Regions from separate parts of the Homo sapiens genome. Here region 2 is linked to region 1. Evidence: promoter capture Hi-C in human tissues and cell types (Jung and others, 2019). All regions are on one chromosome and are shown on one strand. Each heading gives the region's core, a stretch centred on a gene start or on the middle of the fragment in contact. The rest is flanking DNA. Distances are from core to core; before and after follow the strand shown.

The links. The method cuts DNA at HindIII sites, captures the fragments that hold promoters and counts their contacts. A contact is called where the count stands out against the background at its distance.
Region 2: a fragment that was not itself captured here is called in contact with the fragment with the promoter of KCNG1 in region 1 in 2 of the 25 tissues and cell types used here (IMR-90 fibroblasts and lymphoblastoid cells).

The regions. Positions count from the first base shown.
Region 1 is chr20:51,021,084-51,028,582 of GRCh38, reverse strand. It overlaps KCNG1 (potassium voltage-gated channel modifier subfamily G member 1), which reads left to right and starts at 5,476. Exons shown (of 3, transcript NM_002237.4): 1 at 5,476-5,713. RefSeq lists a silencer at 5,378-5,547 and an enhancer at 7,272-7,499. The HindIII fragment of the contact is 10,697 bases long and covers 3,342-7,499 here.
Region 2 is chr20:51,525,011-51,532,367 of GRCh38, reverse strand. All of the region lies in intron 1 of NFATC2 (nuclear factor of activated T cells 2), which reads left to right. Among named protein-coding and RNA genes, the nearest start is that of NFATC2, 14 kb to the left of the region's middle. RefSeq lists enhancers at 898-1,067, 1,108-1,157. The HindIII fragment of the contact is 7,486 bases long and covers 507-7,357 here.

The sequences.
Region 1 (7,499 bases), core at 4,227-6,726:
TCCAGGACAGGAAAAAGGCATGAAGGCACTGAGGCTCATTGCATACAGCTGCTGCAAAGATTTTGTGTTTGCACAGAGGAACACCTCGAGTGTAGAGCCAAGAAATAAACAGTGAGTGACACCCCATAATGGCCAGGGTCAGCAAGGCTCAAATGGCTCCAAAGCCCCCAGGAGATAGACACAATGCACCACCGGTCAGAGTTCTAGCAGATGTCTTAGATCATTCTGGAATAGAGTTAGATATAACCTTTTCCCTGAATAGATGGTACAGCTGAGGCTCAGGATGCAGGGAGATTGTGTCCAACCACACAGCTAGTCTAGTGACACAAGCTGGACCAGAACCCAGGTCCCCTGACTCTCAGCCCAGGGCTCTTGCCAAAGAACCCTGGACTAGGAGCAGGGCAGGAGCTGGGATGAGGCAGGCAGGGTACAAAATGTAAGAGGGAGCCGGATGTGGTGGCTCACACCTGTAATCCCAGCACTTTGGGAGGCTGAGGAGGGCAGATCACCTGAGGTCAGGAGTTCAAGACCAGCCTGGCCAACATGGTCAAATCTCATCTCTACTAAAAATAGAAAAATTAGCCAGGTGAGGTGGCAGGGTGCCAGTAATCCCAGCTACTCAGGAGGCTGAAGCAAGAGAATCGCTTGAACCCGGGAGGCAGAGGTTGCAGTGAGCCAAGATCGTGCCACTGCACCTCAGCCTGGGCAACAAGAAAGAAACTCCATCTCAAAAAAAATAAAAAAAGAAAAGAAAAAAAAAGTAAGGAGGTGCCCAAAAGCTCAATCATCAAGGTAAATAACATTTTGAAACAATATTTTTTAAAAATCAAAATTAGTCCACAAAAATCCACAAGAAGCAAAATATCACATTTTAAAAGAAAGACTTCAATAAAGTCACACCCTTGCATGCCTCAACCTCACCTACTGCAACCTAACCCCATCCCAGACCAGGAATCCCAAGGTGACAATGGGCTGAGACCTGCAGGAAGTGGCTATATGGAAATCTGCGGGAAGGTGACAGGATTTGGGGAATCAGAGGAACAGAAAGGGAAAGTGCCTGGGGCAGAGTGTCTGTGGAGAGAGAGAAGGAGAATGCCCCCATCCCAATCCCTGCCTTGACTCAAACACCAGCCTTCACCCCACAGACACCCAGTGGGATCCCCTGTCCAAAGAGCTAACTCCAAACCAAGAAAATCCCACCCCACCCACCACTCTCAACAGATTCCTCCCAACTCCAACCAAATCCAAGCCTTTTCATCTCAAGGAGGAGATGGGTTAAAAAAAAATGGACAGCTCTGGATAACTTTTCCTGCCCTGGAAAAACAGCCCAGAACTTTATGGCTTACTGACAGCTGGTTATGGATGGGAAGGAAGGCATATTCTTAAACTGCTGACAGTAACTCCCTTTTAAGGTATTTCCTCAGGGCCAGCAATGTCACATTCTCCTCCTGCCCGAAAAATTAACAGCAGTTTTTATTTCAGTGACAAGCTTGGGCTTTTGGGTTAGGCAGGCCTGGGTTCGGATCTGGCTCTGCCATTTACCGCGCAACCCTAGACAATCTGCCAACATGAAAAGTCACCAACTCTTGCTTCCAGGGGCCTGGCAGTAACCGAGATGGTATGATGTGGGTAGAGGGGCACACCGCAGGGAGCAGAAGCCACTGCCCAGCGCCAGCATGCTGTGTGGGTAAAGGATGTTGGCCAGATCTCCCAGTGTTTCAAAAGAAAAAATTTTACATGAAATCTCCCAGTTTTTAAAGGTCAGCAACTAATTTTAAATTAATTTTTAAAAATTTTAACTCAGTAGGGACAAATAAAACAGGTCTGCGTGCCAGAGTCCACCTCCGGGCCCAGTTGTGGCTCTGATGTCTTCAAATCACCCAGCAACCACCTGGCACCTCGTAGCTGCCCAGCAAGCACTGACGGTTCCCATTTTCTCAGGAAGCTTCCATGGGTATCATCAACATCTCTTTCCACACAACAGCTTGGGGAAGGATGCTTTTCAAGAGGAAAATGAAGATATGAGGAGAAGAGTGAAAAATCTGGAAGGCTCTAAGGGAGGGAGGAACTGCAAAGAGGGAATTCCTTAAAAGGACTTAAAAGGATTTTATTGGACATTGTTTAGCACAGTCAGGGATAAGATCAGGCAGTAATTTAACTCCTGGGTACAGCAAGTGAGTGTGTATGTTGCGGGTAGGCAGGACCGGGTGGAAGTCATTGTTCTCACTGACGGTCTCCACACAGTGTACCAGGTCTTCTGTCTGCAGGTCACTATGAAATTTGACTCAGGTGCATAGTGTTCTAATAAGCCCAGCCCCATCTCTAGAGGTGGCCATTAGTTCCTATGGATCCTACATAAGAAGAAGCTGGCTTGAGTTTGTCCCGGGACCTCATGAGGGCTCCGAAGTCAGACCCAGCTGGGTAGGCGTTCAAGTCTTCAATATCAGTGGTTCTCAAAGTGGGATCCCCAGACCTGATGCATGAGCATCAGCAGGGAACTCCTCAGAAGGACCCTACGCCAGACCCACTGAATCAGCCACTCCAGGGTGGGGGCCAGCCGTCTGGGTTTTAATAAGCCCTCAGGGGGATTCAGATGCACAGTAAAGTCTGAGAGGCCCTGCTCTGCATCCTTACCCTGTGAGCATCAGTGAGGAGTCTGACTCTCTGACGCAGTCACATCTATTCCAGAAAACTGTCCTGAATTCCCCCAGGAATCATTTCCAGGAATCATTTAAGAAGCCTGCTCTGTATGTGCCTAGCAGAGTGGGAGCTGCTGGAGAGGGGAGAGACAGCACACAGTCCTTGCCCTGATGGAGCTTGGTCCCCAGTGGGGACACAGATAATACGCAAGTAAAAAAGATAGAAACATGGCCAGGTGCAGCGGCTCACATCTGTAATCCCAGCACTTTGGGAGGCCAAGGTGGGTGGATGTCTTAAGCCTAGGAGTTCCAGACCCGCCTGTCTCTGCAAAAAATATATTTTGTTTTAAATTAGTGGTGCATGGTGGTGTGTGGTAGTCCCAGCTACTCAGAAGTCTGAGGCAGGAGGATCCCTAGAGCCCAGGAGTTAGAGGTTACAGTGAGCTATGATTGCACCACTGCACTCCAGCGGGTGACAGAGTCAGACCCTGTCTCAAAAACAAGATAGAGAGCAATTTTCTGGCTGGGTGCAGTGGCTCACGCCTGTAATTCCAGCATTTTGGGAGGCTGAGGCTGGCGGATCACTTGAGGTTGCGAGTTCAAAACTAGCCTGGCTAACATGGTGAGACTCCGTCTCTACTAAAAATACAAAAATTAGCTGGGCATGGTGGCACACACCTGTAGTCCCAGCTACTCAGGAGGCTGAGGCAGGAGAATCGCTTGAACCCAGGGGGATGGAAGTTGCAGTGAGCTGAGATCACACCACTGCACTCCAGCCTGGGAGACACAGAGAGACTATGTCTCAAAAAAAAAAAAAAAAAAAAAAATTTCAGATGGGAAAGGAAGGCAGAAGCCTGATCCACCACAAGAGGAGTGTTTCTCAATATGTAATCCAGGGACCCTCTGACAACAAAAGCCCACCCCACCCCACTCAGGCCCCTCCCCCACACTGCTGGTTGGTCTCTTTGATGTTTCTCAGACATGCCTCCTTCTCTCCTGCTTGAAGGCCAGTGCCTTTGATGTTCTGTCCACCTAGAAAGCTCTCTTCCCATCTTGCCAGATGGGCTCCTTCTGGCTCAGGGCTCCATGTAACCATCACCTCCACAGGAGCCCTCCCCCATTATTCTATCTAAAGTGGCCTCTCTGGCTTCATTCTGCAATCACGTATTTCAGCAGTTTCCCAATTCTGCCAAGCCCCCAGTAGAAGGTGAGCTCTTGGAAACAGGTCCTTAGGCAGATCCTTGTCTGTCCAGGCCTCCACCTCACCAGTAAGCCAGTGTTTTTATTCTTGTTGTTTTAGAGGCTGGATCTCGCTCAGTCACGCAGGCTGGATTGCAGTGGTGCCATCATAGTGCACTATAACCTGGAACTCCTATGCTCCACCCGGCTGGGACTGCCGCGCAGGCTAGTGTGCCCTGCGCTCATTTCTTAGGGTTAACCCTAACCCACTTAATGAGCACCCACGACTCCCCAACCCGAGCCCCACTCAAGCAGAAGGCCTCAGGCTGGTCGGCAGCAGGGTTTCTTCATGTCCTTTCTTGGTTCTCTGATGATAGGCAAAGGCAGTAGAGACAGAAAGGAAAAGAGGAACGGAGTGCAAGAGACAGAAAGGAGAAGAGGAACGGAGTGCAAGAGACAGAAAGGAGAAGAGGAACGGAGTGCAAGGCAAGCCACCCTAAGAGGCCAGCCCTGCCAGCAGCACAGATCCCTCCAAACCAATAGGTCCCTCCAACTCAGTAGATTCCTCCAACCCAATAGATCCCTCCAACCCAACCTCCAGCATCTGTGCAGCATCCTACCAACTCCGAGGCTAGGCGGCCACACTGGGAGCAAGACCCCAGGACCTGGTCCAAGTGCCCTGCACCGGCCAGGGGAGTGGACGACGAAGTGCGGCTCTGCTAGCCCGGGAGGGCTCTGGGGCCTCGGCCCCGCGGGACTGGAAGGGAAAACACCTGGCACGGTACGTACTGGCCCTAGGAATTTGGCACAGCAAGATGCTGGCAGTCCCTGGGTGGCGGTGGCAGGAAGGGCCCAAGGGCAACATTGGTCTAGGAGGTCGAGAAAAGGCGCGCGATATATGGCCCCCAGGATGTGGAAGCTTGCTTGGAGCGTTCGGCTCCAGGGCAGCAGCGCGTGGAGGGCCTCAAGGATGCAGTATTTGCCCGGGGTAGGGGGGCGAGGGACCCAGAGGCAGCAGTGCACTTGGACTTCCAGGACTTCCAGGGAAAGGCAGGAGACATGGCGCATGTGGTTCCCAGGATGTGTAAGCGCGTGGAGCGCGGCCCCGGGGCAGCGGAGAGTGGGGTTTTAATATCTAGCACATGTAGACCCTGGGGCGGTGCTGCTAGGGGCGCGGACCCGGGACCACCGGAGCACTTGCACCGCGGGGAAAGCTGACAGGGCGCGCGACCCTAGGAGGCTGCCGCGCCGCCTGGTGCGTGAAGCTCCAGGGCAGCGGAGCGCGGGGACCTTGAAGGCTGTCGCGTGCAGGCGAAGGGGCCGCAGGGTGGTCGCTCCTGGGAGAGCAGACGGGGAAGAAGGCAACGGGAGGGAGGGCGTAGCGCGAGCAGTCCCGGACGCGGGCTCAGGAACTGGCCGCGAGGAGCGCAATCCAGCAGGCGCGCCAGGGCCCCCGGATCCAAGGTGCGGGGTCCCGATTGGGCGCCTGGACGCCCCGTGACGGTGGCGCCGCTGCCACTGTCCCGAAGCGAGGCGAGGCCAGGCGCTGCGCTTTCGGCTGCCCGCCCCTTCTCCCCGCCCCGCGCTCAGTCCCCTCCCTCCGTCCCGCCTCCTGCCTCGCTCCCTCCCTCGGCGGCTGCTGCGCCGCGCTCCCGGCGCACTCGGAGCCCGGCGGGGACCGGGAGGCAGAGACGGGGCGGCCGTGGCTCCGAGGGCGGGAGCTGAGCCGGGCCCCGGGACCGAAGTTTGGCGGCGGCTCCGGGAGGCAGAGCGGGCTCCCCGGGCGACTTCCAGGCCCCTCTCGCGTCCTCGCCCCGGACCCGTGGGCAGCCGGGGGGAACGGAAGCCGCGGCCGGGCCAACTCCGAGGCGGGGACGCCGCGACGGGAACTTGAGGTGGGAACTTTGCGCGCTGCAGCCTCGCCGGGCGCCACCGAAGCGCGAACCGGACCCCGAGCCTGCAAACTCGGGCTCGGGGGCGGCTGCACGTGGCCGTGGCCCTGAACTCCCTGCGGGGGCCTCGAAACCCGCCTGCGGGGAGGCCAGGGCGACAGAGGACTCGGGAGTCACCGCTGGTGCGTGGCGGCGTGGAGCGCGCTTGTTACGGCCAAGGTGCGGGTCCGGCTTCGGTTCATCCCAAGGGGTCACCGGGATGCGAAGTCCGGGACGTTCGCCGCCGCGGTGACCCCGGCGGGGGCGCATCCCGGCTGTGGGCCGAGGTTTCTCCCCCGATCCTGGGAGGAAGGAGAGTTAGGGATTGGGGTGGGGGAGTGTGTGTCACTTGCTCATTCACTGTATCCTTAGGCACAGTATGGAGCCCCCCTTCACCCCCACCGTGGGCCTGATTGAGTCATTCATTATGAACACAGCAAGCGTTTATTGAGCGCCTACTGTGTGCTAGGCACTGGGGATACTGAGACAGTTCACTGGGCACCCCCAGGAACTGGTAGGAAGGTGGTGGTCTCAGCCTTAGGGTTTCCATGTGGGAGAGAGGCTCAGCCCGGAGGTATGGAAGGAAAAGGGTGAAGTTCATTCATTCATTCATAGATTGGACAAAGATTGGTTGAGCACCTATTGTAAGCAGCTCATCATACCAAGCGCTCAACAGTCATTCATCCAGTTCACAAACATTTATGGAGGCGCTATGCTGGGGAGAAGTGAAGAGGGATGGAATGGGGGCACCCTTCATGCAGCTTAGAGAGAAGTAAGGATTAAGACCCAGGCCCCCGCTTGGGAGGCCGCAGACTGCCGGGGTGGCCAACTGTAGCAGCCCATGTATATAGGCAGAAGTCTTGGTTCATCTAATGCATTCCTTCTCAAGGTGGGAGGTGTGGAAGCTGGAATTGGTTCTAGAATAGGAAGAAAAGATCTTTTCAAAGCTCCTTAGGGGCGGGTGATGGGGTAGGGTGGGGAGGAGTTGAGAAACACTGATCCGACATTACTGAGGAATGCAGGTTCCCACCAATGGGGTTTATGAGTTAGGTTGTCCATTCAGCAGGCATTTTCTTAAGCACTCGCTGTTATTAAGCACTTAAAGGGTGCCAGGCACCAAAGTTACCCAGGTAAATGACAGACACATAGAAGAGGGAGACAGACACAGACGCCCCCACCCCCTTTGCTGACTCCCTGAGATAAGTACAGGGGGAAGTAAGAGGAGGGAGCAGGAACTGGTCTGATTCATTGTGGGGTGGGGGAAGTTCCTGCCCTATGAATCTGAGCAGAGGTTTATTCATTAGTGTGTGTTTGATACCCCCATACCCATGATGGCAGAGTCCCTATGAAGAGCCTCACCGGCAGCACATCTCCAAGAAAAGTTTGGCACTGCTGATTGGGGCCTTGCGGTCGGCACTGTGGCTAGGGCATGCTGTCCTTCTTTGGGGGATTTTTCAGGCTCTGCCAGACCTGAGCTCTATTTGTGCCTCCCCCGGCTTTTGGAGCCCTGCAGAGTCGCCTGATAGGAGGGGAAGGAGGGAAGGTGTGTTTGAAAAACAGGCAAGCGCTGGCCCCTGGGGATCACCCTCCTCAGTCATTCTCGAAGCCAGCCCGTTCCACGGGAAAGATGTCTGTCCTGGGACACACTCCTAACCTGCAGGGAACTGCAAGCACACTGGAAACGAGGCAACCTAGGTTCTTCTCCTGAGACTTGAGAGCCCAGGCCCGCAGCCTACAGCCTGGGTTGTCA
Region 2 (7,357 bases), core at 3,000-5,499, 510 kb before region 1:
AATCACCTCTTTCCTGAGATGCAGGATAAAGTAGTGGTTAGGGGGGTGGAGGAGCCAGGTTGCCTGAGAATGAATCTTGGCTCTGCTACTTAGAAGCTGTGTGACCTTGGGCAAATTACTCACCCTCTCTGAGCCTCATTTTCCCCCTATATAAAATGGGGAAACGATATCAGCTGCTTCATAGGGTTCTTGTGAGACAAATATGAACATACACTAGATGCGTACAGTTCTCGATATAAAGTAAGTGGTATAGATGTGCTAGTATTTTGATTATGACAAGCGGCTCACTGACCCACTAACACTTTAGTAAGATTTAGTCGATCCACTGCCAGGTAGCCTGGGAGGAAAAGTACAAAGTGTGGAATGGAGAGGGTGTTGGAAGCACGTTTTACCTCCTCCACACATTTTCTGAAGGTCAGCAGGATCTGAGGTAAAAAGAGAATTCCTAAAGTGCTGACCAACCCATTTTATTTTTATAAAAATGTCTTCCTTTTTTTCGTAATGCTTTCGAAGGGGTTGGGGACTAGTGCGTTCAAGTTGTTGTAAAATAGACTAACTATAGCAGGGAAAGGGCAGAATTGTCACCGAAAAGATTGTTCTTTCAATAATAATCCAGTAGGCCCCATTTACTGGGTATTGATTCTGTGTGTCTTGGGCTTTGCATAGGTTAGGGAAACCGACAGGCTTGTATCATCACCAGTGTCATCACCCCGTGTCACACATGAGGACATGGAGTTTCCCCAAGTCTCACAGCCGGGGGTGGGAGTGGATCTGGAGTCCCCTAACCCCGTGCTACCCTCTGTTGACTGAGACCTGGATCTCAGCGTAGAGCTCTTGCTTGGTGGGGCAAAGAGGAGGGCTGAACTGGCCTCCCCAGCAATCTTGTCCTGTAGTTTTTGGGAGTGGCCAGAGATTTCTCCACATATTCACAGGGCCTACCTATTGGGTAAGCACCCAGGAACTTGATGAAAGGAGGGGTGATAAGAATGAGAACTTTCAGGTGTCTGCCACAGAGATGAGCGTCACCTGCCAGGGCTGAGAGTGAGAAGATGTCTCATTTCTGAATCAGTTCAGGTTGAGGGCGTGAGTCATGAGTTGATGCTTCCAGCAGTCTTTGGGCCTCTGCTGTGCGCAGGCCTCCTGTGCCATGCTGGGGCTCTAAAGCCAGGAGCCGTGGTTCTCAGCTGGGGGCGAGCCTGCCTGGCAGGAGATGTTTGGCGATGCCTGGAGACATTTTTGGTTGCCACAACGGGGAGAGGGACAGGGCAGCTGCTATTGGCATCCAGTGGGTAGGTGGCTGTGAGGATCAAGTAATTTACTACATGTAATGTGCTTATAACAATGCCTAGCATGTAAGTTCTCAATATATTTTAGCTGCTTTTTCTGCATTATAATCATCTTCATAATAATTATTGATGTAAGACTCCTATCTGCCTCTAAGAACCTCAGAGTCTAGAGGGTAGACAGACGAGTGAATCCATAGATAGACTTCAATGTGGGACTCTGTGGGACCTGGGAGTGTAGAAGAGCTGCCTGATCCAGCCTGGGGAAACAGGGAGGGCCTCCAGGAGGGGGTGGCTCAGGTCAAGTCATGATGGATAAATAGTGGCTTGTTAGGAGATGTAAGGTCGGGAGGTATGGAAGGGAGTTCTGGGTAAGGGGAACAGCATGTGCGTGACATGGAGGTACAGAGGCCCTTGAGCAGCAACCTCTGAATCCCCCATCCCTGCTTCTATCTTCTTCCTCCCTTTGGTACTGATGCTTCGTATGCAGGCCAGGTACCTCCCATGGTAGGTGAAATGGATTTTAGGTGGTCCACCAGTGAGGACGTTGTATGTGCTAAGAACTATTTTTCAGCGCTATTTTCTCTTTGAACTAGTCAGAAGGAGTGGAGTTTCAGGCCAGGCATGGTGGCTAATGCCTGTAATCCCAGCACTTTGGCAGGCCGAGGTGGGCAGATCACTTGAGGTCAGGAGTTCGAGACTAGCCTGACCAACATGGTGAAACCCTGTCTCTACTGAAAACACAAAAAAATTAGCCGGGCATGGTAGTGGTCACCTGTAATCCCAGCTACTCAGGAGGCTGAGGCAGGAGAATCGCTTGAACCCGGGAGGCGGAGGTTGCAGTGAGTCGAGATCGCACCACTGTACTCCAGCCTGGCAACAGAGCAAGACTCTGTCTCAAAAAACAAAAAACAAACAAACAAAAAAGGAGTAGCGCTTCAGTGAGGTACTGCTGTACCATTGACACCTTTCTTTCTAACACTGGCTCCTCCCTTTCCCTGTTCCTAGGTCTTGACTTTCTGGGGTCTTGGAAATGTTCCATATTTTGATTATGTTGGTGGTAGCAAGAATGTATGACATTTGGCAAAACTCGTCAAACTCTATACTCAAAACACTGACATCTGTGTATATGAGTTATACCGCAGAAGCATTGGCGGGGGCGGGGCTGTATAAAGCCTCAGACTCAGAGCCTTTGCCCAGCCACTGTGTCTTGCTTGAATTTAGTAAGTTTTATTTTTATTGTATTTTTACCCTACCTTCTATTTATGGAGGTGACATTGATTTTCCATCTGCAGTAGTGGTGTAAAGTTTCCTTTTAAAATAAAAAAAAAATAAGTGAGTGAATTTAAATACTAGAAGTATTAAGTAAATACTTTTTGGTGGCACATGGATAGAGCAAAGATCGTGCAAGTGGTTAAAAAAAAAGCAAGCTTTTTGGAAATCCTCCTGAGAACATTTGGTGGTTCTGAGATGAAACTAACTTCACCCAGTGCCGTGCGGGCATCGTGATGACTGTAAGAAAGCCGCCTGTGAGCGTGGCAGTTGTTTAAGGAGAAATAGTGACGAATCTCAGCCACTGACTTAGAGAAATATTTTAATGATGTGCTATTTGTGAAATTTACTGTCAAATACCCAGGGGACTGAGAATTAAATGATTATTAATTATCTTCATATTCCCTGCTTGCTGGTAAACATTTAAAGTCTTGTCAAGAGGAAAAAAAAAAAACTGCCGCTTGGATTAATGAAAACCAATGTAAATGCTTTAAATACTTTTGCTCAGCACACTGGAGCTTTCTGTTTTTCAGAGCTCCTAGGGAGTGTGAGTGATGTGTGTTTTCAGGACTGCGTTTCTGTGGACTGTGCACATCAGCCCCAAGGGTGTGTTTCTGATAAGATACAGTGCAGTTCTTCTGATACGGCCGGAATTTTTGCTAAGAAACTTTTTGTGTTTTGTTTTTCTGGTTCGAAGGGCAGTGAATTCTCAGAATGTTGTCGGCCATGGGTTTGACATTCCTCTTTTCCTAGATTAAAACTCTGTGCTCTGTTACCTTCTAGGAAGGCGTGTGTGTGTGTATGTGCGAATTCAAATACACATTTACATTAAACTACAGCCTCACAAGAACTCCAGGCCTTACAGATGCTAGCTAGAAAAATCAAAGGATTTCAGAGCCAGAAGCCACCAAGGAAACTGATTCAGTTTAATGCTGTTCAGTTATAAATGAGAAGGTGTTGAGGCCTCCAGTGGGTGGGGGACTTTTCCAAAGTCACGCTGCTACTTAGTGGCGGAGCAGGACTGCACTCTTCATTTCCTGCTTCGTAAAACAGGGTTTCATTACTGTATATCATGCTATGTCACCTACCACCTATGAAATAAAATTAAAAATGTTTCTTTTGGGAGTTACATTTATTTTCTTACACAATTACACAAATCAAAGGAAGTCTCCTTTCTGCCATGCCACTGTCCTCCCATTCCTTAGTTCCCCTCCCTGGAGGATGTCACTATTACTTGTGACTTCCAGAGAAAGCCTGTGCATCCTTCAGCTGTGCGTGTACATCTGTCTGTGTGTGTACATATGTGTGTGTACATCTGTCTGTGCGTGTACATCTGTACATCTGTGTATATATGTGCAGGTGTAATCTGTATACATCTGTGTGTACATCTGTCTGTGTACATTGTGTGTACATCTCTCTGTGTTTGTGTACATCCTCTCACTTTTTATGCTGTGCACACTATACAGCTTGCTTTTCTCTAATACTAAATCTCAGTGGTCATTCCATGTCAATGCATAAAGAACTTCTTCAGGCCTTTTTGTAGCTATACTGTATCCCATCATATGAATGAGCCAGAATTAATTCATCCCCAATAGATGGGCTTTGGGTTGCTTCCAGTCTTTTGGGATTACAGTCAGGGTTGTAGTAATGAATCTTAAGCATACACAGGTCATTTTGCACAGGTGAGAGTATATCTGCAGGAAGAATTTTTTTTTTTTTTTTTTTTTGGGACAGGTTCTCATCCTGTCACCCAAGCTGGGAGGTGGTGGTACGATCATGGCTCACTACAGCCTTGATCCTCCCACCTCAGCTTCTCCAGTGGCTGGGACTACAGGTAGGTGCCACCATGCCCAGCTAATGAAAAAAAAATTTTTGTTTTAGAGATGGGGTCTCTACGTTGCCCAGGCTGGTCTTAAACTCCTGACCTCAAGCAATCTTCCTACCTCTGTCTCCCAAACGGTTGGGATTCCAGGTGTGAGCCACCATGACTGGCCCAGGATGAATTTCTAAAAGTAGCATTGCTTGGTTCCGAGGGCACATGTGGTTCCGGGGGCACGTGTGTTTGGAATTTTCATGGATATTACAAAATGACCCTCTCTAGAGTTATAGCCTTCTATCTTTTGGTTTGGATATTAGCATCTTTGAGTAATAGTTTATTCCAGGTAGACTTTTCTGAACTTGCCTCATTCATTCAGCCAACACATCCTTTCTGAGGGCCTGTTTAGTGGCAGGACCATTCCAAGTGCTTAGGGGCATGGCGGAGCAAGAGTCCTCATGGCATTTGCTGATTGGTGGGGGTGGATCTCGAGGTCGAGGGAAGGGCAGACTGGAGGTCGAGGGAAACGGAGCACTCCACAGTTCCTCAGTCGTTATGGTGAGATGTGCACAGAACACAGCAGGGGCCTGTGAGTGGGGCCTGAGCTAGTCAAGTGGTCAGGGGTCCTTCTAGAAGCATGCAGTACTTAAGCCCAGCTCATGGGCATGAATGGGCTTTAGTCCTGTGGAGAAGGGGGCCTGGCAGTGGGTAGGGGAGGAGCTGTTGAGGCAGGGGGAGCAGCAAGTACCAAGGTCCCGGGGCAGGAAGGAGCTTGATGCTTTTAAAAACTCCCCTTTGCCAGACACGGTTGTTCTCGTCTGTAATCACAACACTTTGGGAGGCTGAGGTGGGAGGATCACTTGAGCTCAGGAGTTGGAGACTAGCCTGGGCAACATAGTGAGACCTCCTGTCTACTAAAAATAAAAAAAAATTAGCTGAGCCCGGTGGTGTGCACTGGTAGTCCCAGCTACTTGGGAGGCTGAGGTGGGAGGATTGCTTGAGCCTGGGAGGTGGAGGCTGCAGTGAGCTATTATTGCGCCACAGCACTTCAACCTGGGCAGCTGAGTAAGACCTCAAAAACAAAACAAAAATCACCACACTCCCCTTTGGCTGGAGTTCAGAGAGAGGGAGGGGAGAGAGTGAATGCAGGCGAGGGTAGATGCACAGGCAGGGCCCAGCCAGGCTGCCTGGCGGGGGTCATTTATTTTTACCTAAGAGCTGTGGGGAGCCATTTTGGAAGTAGGGGTACCATATGGACCCTAAGAGATCAGCTTGGCTAAACTGGACAGTATTTCCTCTAGGATAGCCCAGAAAGGGAACAAGGAGGCTGAGGCTCACTGGGGTGGCCACCTGGGGTCCCCCAAAGCAGGAAGAGGGCTTGTTTCTGGCTGGCAGGCCCCGGACATGGTTCTTATATTTACTTATTCTCTCAGCCACTCGGCAAATGTTTATGGGGGCTTGCAAGTGCCAGGCCCTGTGGTAGGTGCTTGGCAGACAATGCTGGGCCACAGTGACACGGGCCCAACACTGACGGAGCTCTGGGTCGAGTGTGGGGTTGTAAAATTCTCTAAAGGGCCAAGGAGTAAATATTTCAGGCTTTGGGGGCCATTCGGTTCCCAGACTACCAACTCTGCTGTTGTAGTATAGGAGCAAGCTGTAGCTTGCTTTGTTCACCCTGTGTCAATAAATAGGCTGGCTGTGTTGTCATAAAACTATTTACAAACACAACCCATGGGCCGCATTTGGCCCATGGGCTGTGGTTTGCCTGCACCTGGTTTGGCAGAATGAGATTCCCTAAACAGATACCTGGTGCGACGGGAGCTGTTAGCAGGCGTCAGTGGAGAAAAGATGGCAGGGAAAAGGGAAGGAGGGGATCTTTTTGATGGGTCGATCTCAGGAGGTGCGGGCTGAGCAGATGCAGGAAGGAACCAGGGGAAGTGGGAGGATCTCGCGGGGAGGGTTTCCAGGCAGAGGGAACCCAAGGCGTCTGAGGCAGGAGCTGCTTAAGTACGGCGAAGAGGTTGGAGGGGTTGTTGCTGACTCAGCTTGGGGAGAAGTGGGGAGTGGTGGGGGTGGGTGGCAGGCCGGGGCACATGCTGCGTTAGTGACTTTAGGTTCCATCTAAAGTGTCCAGAAGCCTTTATAGTAGGTTTTGAGAATGGACATTTTAAAGGCTGCTGCGTGACAAACAGACTGACAGAGCCACAGAGGAAGTGGGGAGGCCAGGGAGGAGATGACTGCAGTAGTCCCCATGGGAGAGGACGGCGGCTTGGACCAGGGTGGATGCGATGGAATGGGGAGACCTGGGAATCTAGTTTCTGTTCTGACAGTGGAGCAGTCAGGGCTGATGATGGATCAGATGTGAGGCATCAGAGTAAGGAGTCCAGGCCGCCCCATGAGCTGGCGGGGAGGTTGGAGGAGCCTCTGATGAGGTGGGGGGCCTTGGAGGTGGAGTTGCTGTGAGGGGTGGGTGGGTGGCACTAACTCCGTGGGAATTTCCCAAGCAGCCCCACGTGCCTGGACCTGTACAGGATGCAGTGAGGCAGGGTGTCTGCTAGAAGAGGGTCAGGCTGAGAATTAAATGACAGTGTGAGGTGATGGGTGGCAGTGTCCTTGGGTGGCTGACATAGAACATTCTACTTGAACAGCATTCTGCAGCGGTAGGGCCTTTCGAGGTGGCAGCAGGAGCCCGGGCTAGGCAGCCGCTAAAAGAGGAAGTTAGGTCATTTTGCAGTCATTGGTTTTATCTTTATTTTAGTGTATTTTATTTTATTTTTGAGACAGAGTCTCACTCTATCACCCAGGCCGGCATGCAGTGGCACAGTCTTGGCTCATTGAAACCTCCGCCTCCTGGTTTTAAGCGATTCTTGTGCCTCAGCCTCCTGAGTAGCTGGGATTACAGGCCTGTGCCACCACGCCTGGCTAATTTTTGTATTTTTAGTAGAGATGGGGTTTCACCATGTTGGCCGGGCTGGTCTCAAACTCC